3 separate regions of the Homo sapiens genome follow, and all the other regions are linked to region 1. The links are contacts of gene promoters, found by promoter capture Hi-C in blood cells and fetal thymus (Javierre and others, 2016). All regions are on one chromosome and are shown on one strand. The core of a region is centred on a gene start or on the middle of the fragment in contact, and the rest is flanking DNA. Distances in the headings are between cores, read along the strand shown. Region 1 holds the start of ZNF607 (zinc finger protein 607). Region 2 overlaps ZNF383 (zinc finger protein 383). Region 3 holds the start of ZNF383 (zinc finger protein 383).

Region 1 (3,880 bases), core at 287-2,786:
GAGAATTCCTATTTTGGAAAACTTAAATTCTGGCTCACTTCCTTCACATCACGGCTAAGTTCATATTCTTGTTGCTTTTGATCTACAGAAATCCAAAACGGAATATCCAAAATTGCCTCATAATACTTAGCGCTTATGTTTCCCCCCTCCAAGGCTGCAGGCGCGTAATTTCATACACACGACCAGAAGGAAGTATGTTGGATGGAACCTGCAATCATCCTTCACTGCAGGTTCTTGGGGTCAGAATTCAAGGCCGTGTTTGTTAAACATGTAAATGAAACTCCAAGAACCGGGAGGTGGGGGCGGAGTAACAACCCTTTTCAGGAGGGAATCCTACACTCGAAACTGACAAACCCTGCCAGACCAAATTTTAGTCAGGCTACTACACCTTCAGCTAGGCCCATCTGTACACTTCACTGTAAAATCTGGCTATAGCAAAGAACTATTCTAAGTCAGTTTAGCAAGACCCTTTCGCCTCCGTATCTTCATCCTCCACCGTCCCCCAGGTCTCTCTCTCCAGAAATAATCCTGTTAGGTGCGTTTAGTCAGAATCTTCCTTAACCCAGACATTTCCTCTTAGTAATTTCTCATCCAGTGATCCCTAACCTTCTTGGCTATAAATTCCCACTTGTTCATGCTGAATTCGGAGTTGAGCCCAATGTCTGTTACCCACTGCAAAATCTCACAGCCGGGATCCCAATACCTACCACCATGGTCCTGAATAAAGGGTTCTTTGCATGCTTTAACAAGTGTCACTGAATACTTTTTTATTTAACAGAATCTATCATACCTTTCTTAAGGGCAATTACTCTTCTAAGCTTCTCATCCTATCTGTTTCTTCTCACTGGAAATCTTCATCTAAGACTCAGTATCTGATTTCCCATTGGGACCATTTCTCTGTTGTAGTCGTACTAGGCTGAGGAAGGCACAGGAAGCAGCAGGGAACCTGGAGCCAAGGGTCAATAGACCCCACAGAGCCCAGCGAAGCACGCTTTACAAAGGACACACACGGCATGTACAGGTCACACAAGGTCGACTACGCACCCCTCACAGTCCCGCAACTGCACCCACGTCACACAGGCAAGCCGGTCCTGTCGCCGCTGCGCGGTCTCTCACGCTCCCCGCCTGTCTCCTAGAGACGGGCCCCTCCTCCGCAGCTCCAGCACCCTAGGGCCTGAGGAGGCGGGAGACTCGCCCGGCCCGCCTGGGGGCCTCCGCGCTCTGAGCGCCTCCTGCAGCCCCACTCTCACCGCCACGCAGGGTACCACGCGGGCGGCGGGCTGGGGCTGCAGAGGCTCCCGCAGTGACCTGCGCCGCCTTCTTCAGGTGGAACCAAAAGGTCCCGGAACCGGAGCCAGGGGTCCAAGTTTTCTCCGTTGCCTTTGTAATATGTAGTCCAAGCCAGAACAGTCAGGACCGCAGGTACCGGTGAGAAATGGAGTCCAGAATCCTAAAAACCTACGAGAAATACGGCAGCGACCACTTGGACCGCGCCTCCCACCCACCGCTCGAGCCCCGGAGACTTCTGGGAGTGGCCGCCTTGCCTCGAGTGCGCATGCGCAGATCGGCCACTACTGGGCCCCTGGCCTGAGGCTTAGGGTGGAGTTAGTGCGTTCTTAGGGCCAGTAGGAGGCGAGTCTGAGTAGAAACTGATCCAGGTAGCCTCGGAAGGGATCACCTGCTGGATGGGTGTGAGCTCCTCAGGGTGGGGCGCCGAAACCCTCATGGCTCCTGAGGTAGAGCCGGCCTCCTTGGTAACACATGGGACTGGGACTTTTAATACCACCCGACAGGCCCAGCTTGTCTCGTCAAGCGCTAAGTAAATGGACTCACGTCCTATATGAGGGTTTGAAGTTCCATCACATTCTTCAATACATGACATTATGTTCTTCATCTTTGGACACGAATATATTTGACTAAAAATTTGACTAAAAAATCATCTGAAGAAATAACTGCTAAATAGTTTTATTATTTTTGTTCTGGAATAGGCTTCTTGAAGATAAAATAAGAAATTTAAAAAATTTTTTTGATCCTTCATGTAATACTTTGTAAATCTTCATAGTTATTTAGAAGCATCCAAAATTTCCAAATGGTAAAAAACGAATAAGAAAAATTTTTAGGTAAGTAAATTTGGGGGAAATATTTACAACAGCTAAAACGGACAAATATTTAATAGTCCGAATTTCCTGTTTCTTTGGCTTAATAAAATATTGATGAATACAGGCTGGGCACGGTGGCTCACGCCTTTAATCCCAGCATTTTCGGAGGCCAAGGCAGGAGGATCAGTTGAGGCCAGAAGTTCAAAACCAGCCTAAGAAACATAGTGAGACACCCCTCTCCTCCTCCCAAACTCTACCAAAAATGAAAGTTAGCCTGGTGTGGTGGCACACGCCTGTGGGCCCAGCTATTCCAAAGACAAAGGTAGGAGGATCAGTTGAGCCCGGAAGTTCAGGCTTCAGTGAGGTATGATGGTGTCACCGCACTCTGGCCTGAGCAACAGAGCAAGACCTTGTCTCAAAAAATAAATAAGTAAAATTAATTTAAAAATAAAAAATATTTGTCTATACCCTAAGAGGAAAAGGAACAAAACTAAAAAATCACCATTCAAAAATACAAATAGTCAAGGAAAAAAAACTATTAAAGTTACAATTTAAGAACTTATTGATCACTTTTTCTTCTCTTAATTAGTTCTTGGATTTGTTGCTCCTGAATCTCCTGAATAATCTCTCAGAAATACCACACATAGATCAATGGATTAAATTGACTCCACATATTATTTTCTTTTTCTTTTTTCTCTTTTTGAGACGGAGTTTTGCTCTAGTTGCCCAGGCTGGAGTGCAATGGCACGATCTTGGCTCACTGCAACCTCCACCTCCCAGGTTCAAGCGATTTTCCTGCCTCAGCCTCCTGAGTAGCTGGAATTACAGGCATGCATCACCATGCCCAGCTAATTTTGTATTTTTAGTAGAGACAGGGTTTTACCATGTTGGTCAGGCTGGTCTCGAACTCCCAACCTCAGATGATCTGCCCGCCTTGGCCTCCCAAAGTGCTGGGATTATAGGCATGAGCTACTGCGCCCGGCTCCACATACTATTTTCAACAAGGATACCAAGGCATTTTAAGGAAGGGAAGAGTAGTCTTTGTTGAAAAGACTGGAATTAGAGATGCACATAGAAAGGAATGAATTGAGTTCCCTGCCTCTCACCATATACAAAATCAACTCAAAATGGATCAAACACCTAGGTGTAAGACTTAAAACAGTAGAACATTTAGAAGGAAATGTAGGCATAAATCTTCTGGACTTTATAGTCAGCAATTGTTTCTTAACCGTGACATCAGAATCACAAGCAACAACATCAAAAAAGGAAATTGGACATAAATTGTAAAACATTGTGCTTCAAAACCCACCAAGAATGTGAGAAGCTACCCAAAGAGTGAGAAAAATTGTTTGTAAATTATGTATCCAATAAGGGATTTGTATCTAGAATATATAAAGAAGTCTTGCAACTCAATAATAAAAAGCCCAACAAAAATGGGCAAAGTAACTGAATAAGCATTTCTCAAAAAAAAAAAAAAAGTATACACATGGCTACTAAATACTTGAAAACATGTTCTATATTAATCATTAAGAATATGCAAATCAGCCAGGAGCAGTGGCTCATGCCTGTAATCTCAGCACTTTGGGAGGTCGAGGCAGGAGGATTGCTTGAGCCTAGGAGTTCGAAACCAGCCTGGGAAACAAAGAAAAAGACTATGTAAATCAAAACCCCAAAACCCCAATGAGATATACTACTTAGGATGACTAAAATCAAATAAATATACAATAACAAATTTTGGATAGGATTTGGATAAATAGAACCCTATATACATTGATGGTGTC
Region 2 (4,089 bases), core at 692-3,191, 480 kb before region 1:
GCTTTTCAGGTTACTAGCTGAATTTCTATTCTTTATTACCAAACAAATGGTTTGAGCTGAAATGAAAAGGAAGAGTGGGAAATTGGCAACTCCAGTGGGCTGTGGTTGAAGCTTCATCTTCATCTTTCTTTGGCTGTTCCTGTAGTGGCATCTCTTCCTGTGATCATCAAGGGACTGGATCTCCTTTACCCCCAGCATAACCATGTTCCATATCTTTTCTCGTGAGCAGGACTTTACACTCCTAAGCCTCAAGTGATCTCCTTATTGGAACAAGGGAAAGAGCCCTGGATGGTTGGCAGAGAGCTTACAAGAGGCCTGTGTTCAGGTAAGTGAGAAATGACCGGACAGGAGAAAGTCACGATAGGTCAGAACTCAGCTGGTCAGGGAGGAAACAGCACCTTTGAGATGTTATCCCTGAAGCTCCCATCAAGAAACTAGGCCAGTGGAGAAAATGAAGTCCTTTTAGCATAGTTGTTAAATAACCTGTTTCGCCCTTTTCCTCACTTACCACTATTTCTACTACTCCTCTCCAATCCTCCTCTTAATTTCAAGCAGAAGGTACCTTTTACTTCTCTAAAAAAAACCCTATTTTACCCGTATTTTAGATTCAGCTGCTTGCTAGCTTTTTTTACTCTCTCTCTTTTTTTTTCTTTTTTTTTAAAGGGTCTGGCTCTGTCACCCAGGCTAGAGTGCAGTGACATGATCATAACTTATTGTAGGCTCAAACTTCTGGGCTTAGGCAGTCTCCCTGCCTCAGCCTTCCAAGTGGCTGGGACCGTAGGCCTGTGCCACCATGCCTGGCTAATTCTTTTTCTTCTTCTGCATTTTTTTTTTTTTTTGAGACGGAGTCTCGCTCCGTCGCTCAGGCTGGAGTGCAGGGTGCGATCTTGGTTCACTGCAACCTCTGCCTCCCGGGTTCAGGCGATTCTTCTGCCTCAGCCTCCTGAGTAGCTGGGACTACAGGCGCATGCCACCATGCCCAGCTAATTTTTGTATTTTTAGTAGAGGTGGGGTTTCACCATATTGGCCAGGCTGTTCTTGAACTCCTGACCTCATGATCTACCCGCCTCAGCCTCCCAAAGTGCTGGGATTACAGGCATGAGCCACCGCGTCCGGCCCCTCTTCTGCATTTTTTAGACTTGTACAGGTGTTTTCTACTACCACTCCCCAAAATAATATAATTGCGTCTGTATACACACATGTGAACACACACACACACACACACACACACACACACACACACACAGAGACACACACACACACACCCCTTGCCCAAGTACTGGTCTTCATTATAGCTGCCTGTCAGTGACCTGTTTTATCAGACTGTCTTCAATGTTTCCTTTATGGAACGTTTTTTAATTTCCTGGTTTGTGTAAGGGAATCTTCCAGGTGCTACAGTTTACTAATTGTGTTACCTTTACAAATTCAAGGTCCAAAAGTGGTGCTAAAATATATACATATATGACTTCCACAAAGTAGAGTAGTATAAAAGAGAAATGAGATAAGGAGTTTAGCAGAAAGTCAAAGGCTAACTATGTAGAAGTGGAATTAATCCCTATTGAAGTAGTAGGTGGAGCCTTGGAAGTGACTGCAATCACTATGTATAGAGATATTGTTGGGGCCAAGAAAAAAAAAGGATCTGTGCCTATATTAAAAAGGAAGAGGTGGCAGAGCAGGAGAGATTTGGGATGAAGTAGGAGAACCAGAAGAGTACTTATTGAGCACTACTATGTACCAAGCATTGGTCCAAGGGCTGGGACTGTAGTATTCATGAAGGCATTCTAAAGTTCTGCACTTCTGAAGCCTACATTCTAGAGGGTAAGAGAGAAAATGTCTTAGTCCATTTTGTGCTGTTACAGCAGAATACCTCACATCGAGTAATTTATAAAGAACAGACATTTATTTTCTCATAGATCTGGAGGCTAAGAATTCTAAGATCAAGGCACTGTCATCTGATGAGGGCCTTCTTGCATCTTCGTGTGGCAGAAGGCAGTAGGGCAAGAGAGCCAACTCCTTCCATCAAGCCCCTTCGTAAGAGCACCGAAACCCATCCTTGAGGGATGGGTCCTTGAAGCCCGATCATCTCTTAAAGGCCTCACCTCTTCGTTTTTGGAATTTTTTTTTTTTTTTTGAGACAGGGTCTCACTCTGTCACCCAGGCTGGAGTGCAGCGGCACAATCATGGCTCACCACAGCCTCAACCTCCCGGGCTCAGGTGATCCTCCCACCTCAGCCTCCCGAGTAGCTCGGCCCACAGGCACACGTCACCACGCCCAGCTAATTTTTCTATTTTTTGTAGAGACAGGGTTTCGCCATGTTGCCCAGGCTGGTCTCTAACTCCTGGGTTCAAGCGATCCACCCACCTTGGCCTCCCAAAGTGCTAGGATTAAAGGCTTGAGCCACTGTGTCTGGCCCCCACCTCTTAATACTATCACATTGGCAACAGCTGAATTTTGAAGGAGAGACATTCAAACCATAGCAGAAGATAAACATGAATGTCAAGTATATATGTATAAAACAATATTAGCATGACATTAATATTATATGATATATAAATATTTTTAGAATTATATATCACTTACATTTATCTACATGTAACTAATATATTGGTATAGTATAAATATATATCATATATTAATAATATTTCTATATTATTATATGTCCATGTGTATATGAAATGTCAGGTGGTGGGTGATAGATAAGTGCTGTGAAGAGAGGCTAGAGAGGGCCTCTCTGATGAGGTGTTCTTTTAGTGAAGACTTGAAGGAAGTGAGGGAACAGGTAATGTAAATATCTGCTAGGAGAGATTCAGGCAAAGGGAACAGGAAGAGCCAAGTACTCGAGTTCAGAGCTTTTTGGCAGCCACCATTATGGCTGAAATTGAATGAGCAAAGCGGGAATTGTAGAAGAGGAGATCAGGAAAGTAGCAGGCTTATGAGTGTTTGCATGCTGGGTGCAGGTCAGGATGGGAGTTGGATGTACCTGTAGATGATTTTGGGTCTTGTGGACCTTGAATTTTACTCCGAATGAGGTGTAAATCCATTGAATGATTTAGCAGAGTGATATTATCATGTTTGCAAAGGATCATTCTTGCTCTAGGGGTTCCTAACTTTGGATTCCTTTAGGTAGAATTCAGGGAGTCCATGAACTTGGATGAGAAGAAAAAAATACATCTTTTTGGTTTTTTTTGAGACGGAGTCTCACTCTGTCACCCAGGCTTGAGTGCAGTGGTGTGATCTCAGCTCACTGTAGCCTCCACCCCGCAGGTTCAAGCGATTCTACTGCCTCAGCCTTCTGAGTAGCTGGGATTATAGGCGCCTGCCACTGCGCCCGGCTCATTTTTGTATTTTTAGTAGAGATGGGGTTTCACCATCTTTGCCAGGCTGGTCTTGAACTTGTGACCTCATGATCCACCTGCCTTGGTCTCCCAAAGTGCTGGGATTACAGGCATGAACCACTGTGCCCAGACCAAAAATACATCTTTATATTTAATAACCTCTAATTGAGATATAACATTTCTTCCTATCGTGATGTATGGGACAAACCATAGTAGCAGTAGTAGTAGTAGTAGTTACTGTGACTTTGACATTAATGGAAATCACAGATACGTTCATATTATTTTACTGTTATTGTAGGCATATTGAAATATTTATGCTCATCACTACTTCAGAATTAATGTAGTACTAGGCTTGCCACTAGGTCTTGTTTAATGTTTTACTAGAGAAGAAAACTCCAGGCAGAGAGAAGAACCCCTGTGAAGGTTCTGATGGGGAAAAGCTTGGTGTGTTTGAAGGACTAAATGCCAGTGTTGGTGGGCCCCATGATCAAGTGGGAGTGGAGTGTGAGTCAGGGTTTGGATAGACAGGCAGGAGCCACAGCATTCAGCCTTTGCAGGAGATTGTAAGGAGTTCGGACTTTGAGCAGTGGAAACCTAAGCCAAATGATACTATTCCCTGAATAGATTAAAGGGTGAGAGAGCTTGGTGGGGAGACTGGTTGAGGAGGCTACTTCACTGGTCTGGGTAAGAGTTGATTCTGGTTTGGAAGATGACATTGGCAGTGGAAGACAGAAGAGGGCAGTTTCAAAACTT
Region 3 (3,932 bases), core at 1,334-3,833, 500 kb before region 1:
GGTGCAGTGGCTCACACCTGTAATCCCAGTACTTCGGGAGGCCAAGGCAGGCAGATCACTTGAGGTCAGGAGTTCAAGACCAGCCTAGCCAACATGATGAAACCCTGTCTCTACTTAAAAAAAAAAAAAAAAAAAAAAAAAAAAAGGAAAGAAAAATTAGCCGGGCATGGTGGTGGGTGCCTGTAATCTCAGCTACTAGGGAGGCTGAGGCAGGAGAATCACTTGAACCCAGGAGGCAGACGTTGCAGTGAGCCGAGATCCCACCACTGCACTCCAGCTTGGGCAACAGAGGGAGACCCCATCTCAAAATAAATAAATAAAAATTAAAAAAATAAATTAAAAATTAAAAAAAAGAAATGAGTTTTTTCTGCTCTAAAATCAAAAGTTTGCAAGCTGCATTCCTTTCTGGAGGCTCTGGAGAATTTGTTTTTTTTCATTTTCCAAGTTGGAGAAGCTGCCTGCATTCCTCAGCTCATGGGCTCCTTTCATCTTTACACCCAATAATGGCTGGTCGTGTGTTTCTCACAGCACACAATTCCAACACTGACTTTATGCCTTCTTCCTCATTTCAGACCCCATGTGATTACATTGGGTCTAACTGGACAATCCAGTATAATTCCCCTATGTTAAGGTCAGCCGATTAGCAACTTTAATTCTACCTGTTAATTTAATTCCACTTGCCATGTAACATAGCATATTCACAAGTCCCAGGAACTAGCATGTGGGTATTTTGGGGGGAACATTATCCTGCCTACTTTAGATGTTGAGGTCATTCAAGAGGAAAATGATAGTTTTGTTAACATGTGATGTTAGAACAACTGAATTTCCATCTGGAAAATAATAACTTTGAACATTACCTCACATACACAAAAACTAACTTCAAGTGGATGATAGACCAAAAATAAAAACTAAAACTATACAACCTTTAGAATAAAACATAGGAGAAATTCTTCACAACACTAGAGGAGTCAAAGATTGTTAGAAAGACCAGAAAGCATGAAGCACATTTTAAAGATGAGAAATTGGATTTCATCAGAAGTAAAAACTGCTTTTTGAAAGACATCATGAAGAAACTGAGGGCTGGGCACAGTGACTCACACCTGTAATAACACAGTGAGACCCCATCTCCACAAAACACAAGAAAATTAGTTGGGGGTGGTGGTGCACACCTGCAGTCCCAGCTACTCAGGAGGATCGACTAAACCCAGGAGGTCAAGGCTGTGGTGAGCTATGTTAACACCACTGCACTCCAGACTAGGCAACAGAGCAAGACCCTGTCTCAAAAAAAAAAAAAAAAAAAAACTGAGAAGGTAAGCCCCAGGCAGGGAGAGAATATTTGCAATTTGCAATATGTATATTTGGCAAAGGACTTTTACCCAAACATATAAAGAATTGTTACAACTCAATAATAACCAATTTTAAAATAAGAAAATTTTATTTATTTATTTATTTATTATTATTTTTTGAGATGCAGTTTTGCTCTTGTTGCCCTAGCTGGAGTGCAACAGTGTGATCTCAGCTCACAGCAACCTCTGCCTCCCGGGTTCAAGTGATTCTCCTGCAGGGATTACAGGCATGCACCGCCACGCCTGGCCAATTTCGTATTTTTAGTAGAGACGGTGTTTCTCCACGTTGGTCAGGGTGGTCTCGAACTCCCAACCTCAGGTGATCTGCCCGCCTCAGCCTCCCAAAGTGCTAGGATTACAGGCGTGAGCCACTGCGCCCAGCCGAATATTTTCAATAGATGTCACAAAAGAAGATAAAAGAATGGCAAATAAGTATATGAAAGTATGCTAAGTTCATTGACATCAGGAAATGCAAATTAAAAACATAATTTGATACTACTGCTCATTCCTTAGAATAGTCAATAGATGCCTGATGTGGGGTTTGGGAGGTGGGGATTGACTTAACAATGTGGGGGGCAGAGGGCGGTGAATAAAAATATTCTATATCCGCCGGGCGCGGTGGCTCACGCTTGTAATCTCAGCACTTTGGGAGGCCGAGGCGAGCGGATCACGAAGTCAGAAGTTCGAGGTCGGGAGTTCGAGACCAGCCTGTGAGCTCGAACCCTGTCTCTACTAAAAATACAAAAATTAGCCAGGCATGGTGGCGGGCACCTGTAATACCAGCTACTCGGAAGGCTGAGGCAGGAGAATCGCTTGAACCCGGGAGGCGGAACTTGCAGTGAGCCGAGATCTCGCCACTGCAGTCCAGCCTGGGTGACAGCTAGACTCCAACTCAAAAAAAAAAAAAAAAAAATTCTATATCCAGTAACACTAAGGATAAATGCTTGAGGGGATAGACACCCTATTTTACATGATATGATTCTTACGCATTGCATGCCTGTATCAAAACATCTCATGTACCCCATATACAACTACTATGTACCCACAAAAATTTAACTAAAATGCTTAAAAATTTTTTAATTTTAAAAAATATTCTATATCCTGATTACGATGGTGGTGACAAGGGTTTAGACATGCGTTGAAGCTTACCGAACAGTTCACTTAAAATGAGTGCATTTTATTGTATCTAAATTATTCTTCAGTAAAGTTGATTTTTAAAAAACATGCACACAAATATAATTTACAAACTATAACATTAGCTCGTTTATGGTGTACCATTCAGTCACTTTTAGTGTATTCAGAGTTGTGCAAACATCATTATCTAATTCAAGAAGCTTTGCATTACCCCAAAAATGAACCCTTTAGCTATTACCAATCACTCACAGTTCCCCCTAATCCTGCTAGTCCTAAAAAACTCTAACTTACTCCTTTTCCGTAGATTTGACTATTTTAAATATTTCCTATAAATGCAGTCATACAGTATGTGGCTTATCCACGGATGAAGGCAAAAATGACGATTTAGTCAGTCTAGCATTCTCAGAGAGCGTTATAACGCCTAGTACAGTCCGGGGTCCTGGGTGCGTTCTGCACTGAGTCGGCTTGGGGCAGGAAGTCATTTAAGCGACCTCCTTCCACTTGCCCCAGCGCCTCACCCCTTCCTGCTCTAGACTACAGTTCCCAAAAATCCTTGCGGCTCTAGTCAACATCTGGCCCGAAGCTGGCGACCTTTTCCTGTTTCTCAGGGAACTCCCTGGGGTTGGCCGGTACCATGGAGGAAGATTGTCTTCAGCGTGCAGGGCCAGCGTCCTACGGCAGTTTCACTCTGAGCCTGTGTCTGGATCACGGAGACGCGGGGTAGCGGTTCGGAGTGCGGAGCAGGGATGTCCCCGAGCTGTGCAGCTGCAAGAACCCGAAAAAACAGGCGCCATCTTCTCGGCGCGGTCCTACTCCGGACTGTATTTCCCAGAGGCCCCCGCGAGTCCAGGGCAGCCCCTTCATTTGCCTGCTGGACCCTCCGCCTCAAGGGTAGGGGAAGTGCGCGGTGAGCGGCCTGGGTCTTGCAGGCTCGGCTGGGGCCCGCAGGTACGTGCATGGGAGTTTGAAGGGACTGACCAGGCTGGTCTGGAGTGTTGGGCATGTATGAGTGTGTCGGGCATGTATGAGTTGGTCGGGCTGATAGAGGGGGTGGTGGGGAGGCGGGCGCGAGGCGTGGGCTTCCGTGTGTGAGTGTGACCTTATGTGACTGTGCCTCTCTGTGTGCGCGGGTGTGATTGTATATCCTCGTTGTAGTTGTGTAATTGTAACAATGTAAGGCTGTATGTGTAGGTATGACTGTGTCCCGTGTTGGGACTGTGATTGTGTGTGGCTGTGTAACTTTGCGTGACATTTGTGGAGGGTGTTTGTGTGGAGAGAATCTGATGAGGCTGTGACTGTGTGTTAGTCTGAGGGGTGTGTGTAATTGTGTTTGTATGACTGTTAGCAGCACTTAAGTGTACTGGATGCCTTACTGAGTAAATCTACTACCCAGAAATAACCCAGTAACGTGAGAATGTGAGAGTGTGACCATGTAACTTTATGTAGCACTGT

Evidence for each region. The method cuts DNA at HindIII sites, captures the fragments that hold promoters and counts their contacts. A CHiCAGO score of 5 or more calls a contact.
Region 2: a contact is called between a fragment that was not itself captured here and the fragment with the promoter of ZNF607 in region 1, in 13 of 17 cell types (total CD4 T cells, naive B cells, non-activated CD4 T cells and 10 more). The highest score is 10.3, in total CD4 T cells.
Region 3: a fragment that was not itself captured here is called in contact with the fragment with the promoter of ZNF607 in region 1 in 1 of 17 cell types (fetal thymus); the score reaches 5.0 in fetal thymus.

What each region holds. Positions count from the first base shown.
Region 1 is chr19:37,718,225-37,722,104 of GRCh38, forward strand. It overlaps ZNF607 (zinc finger protein 607), which reads right to left and starts at 1,537. Exons shown (of 5, transcript NM_032689.5): 1 at 1,045-1,537. RefSeq lists silencers at 1,039-1,128, 1,189-1,298. The HindIII fragment of the contact is 3,190 bases long and covers 817-3,880 here.
Region 2 is chr19:37,235,750-37,239,838 of GRCh38, forward strand. It overlaps ZNF383 (zinc finger protein 383), which reads left to right. Exons shown (of 6, transcript NM_001387601.1): 5 at 230-325. Among named protein-coding and RNA genes, the nearest start is that of LINC01535, 14 kb to the right of the region's middle. The HindIII fragment of the contact is 3,665 bases long and covers 110-3,774 here.
Region 3 is chr19:37,214,847-37,218,778 of GRCh38, forward strand. ZNF383 (zinc finger protein 383) reads left to right here and starts at 3,368. Exons shown (of 6, transcript NM_001387601.1): 1 at 3,368-3,428. RefSeq lists an enhancer at 2,994-3,483. The HindIII fragment of the contact is 190 bases long and covers 2,489-2,678 here.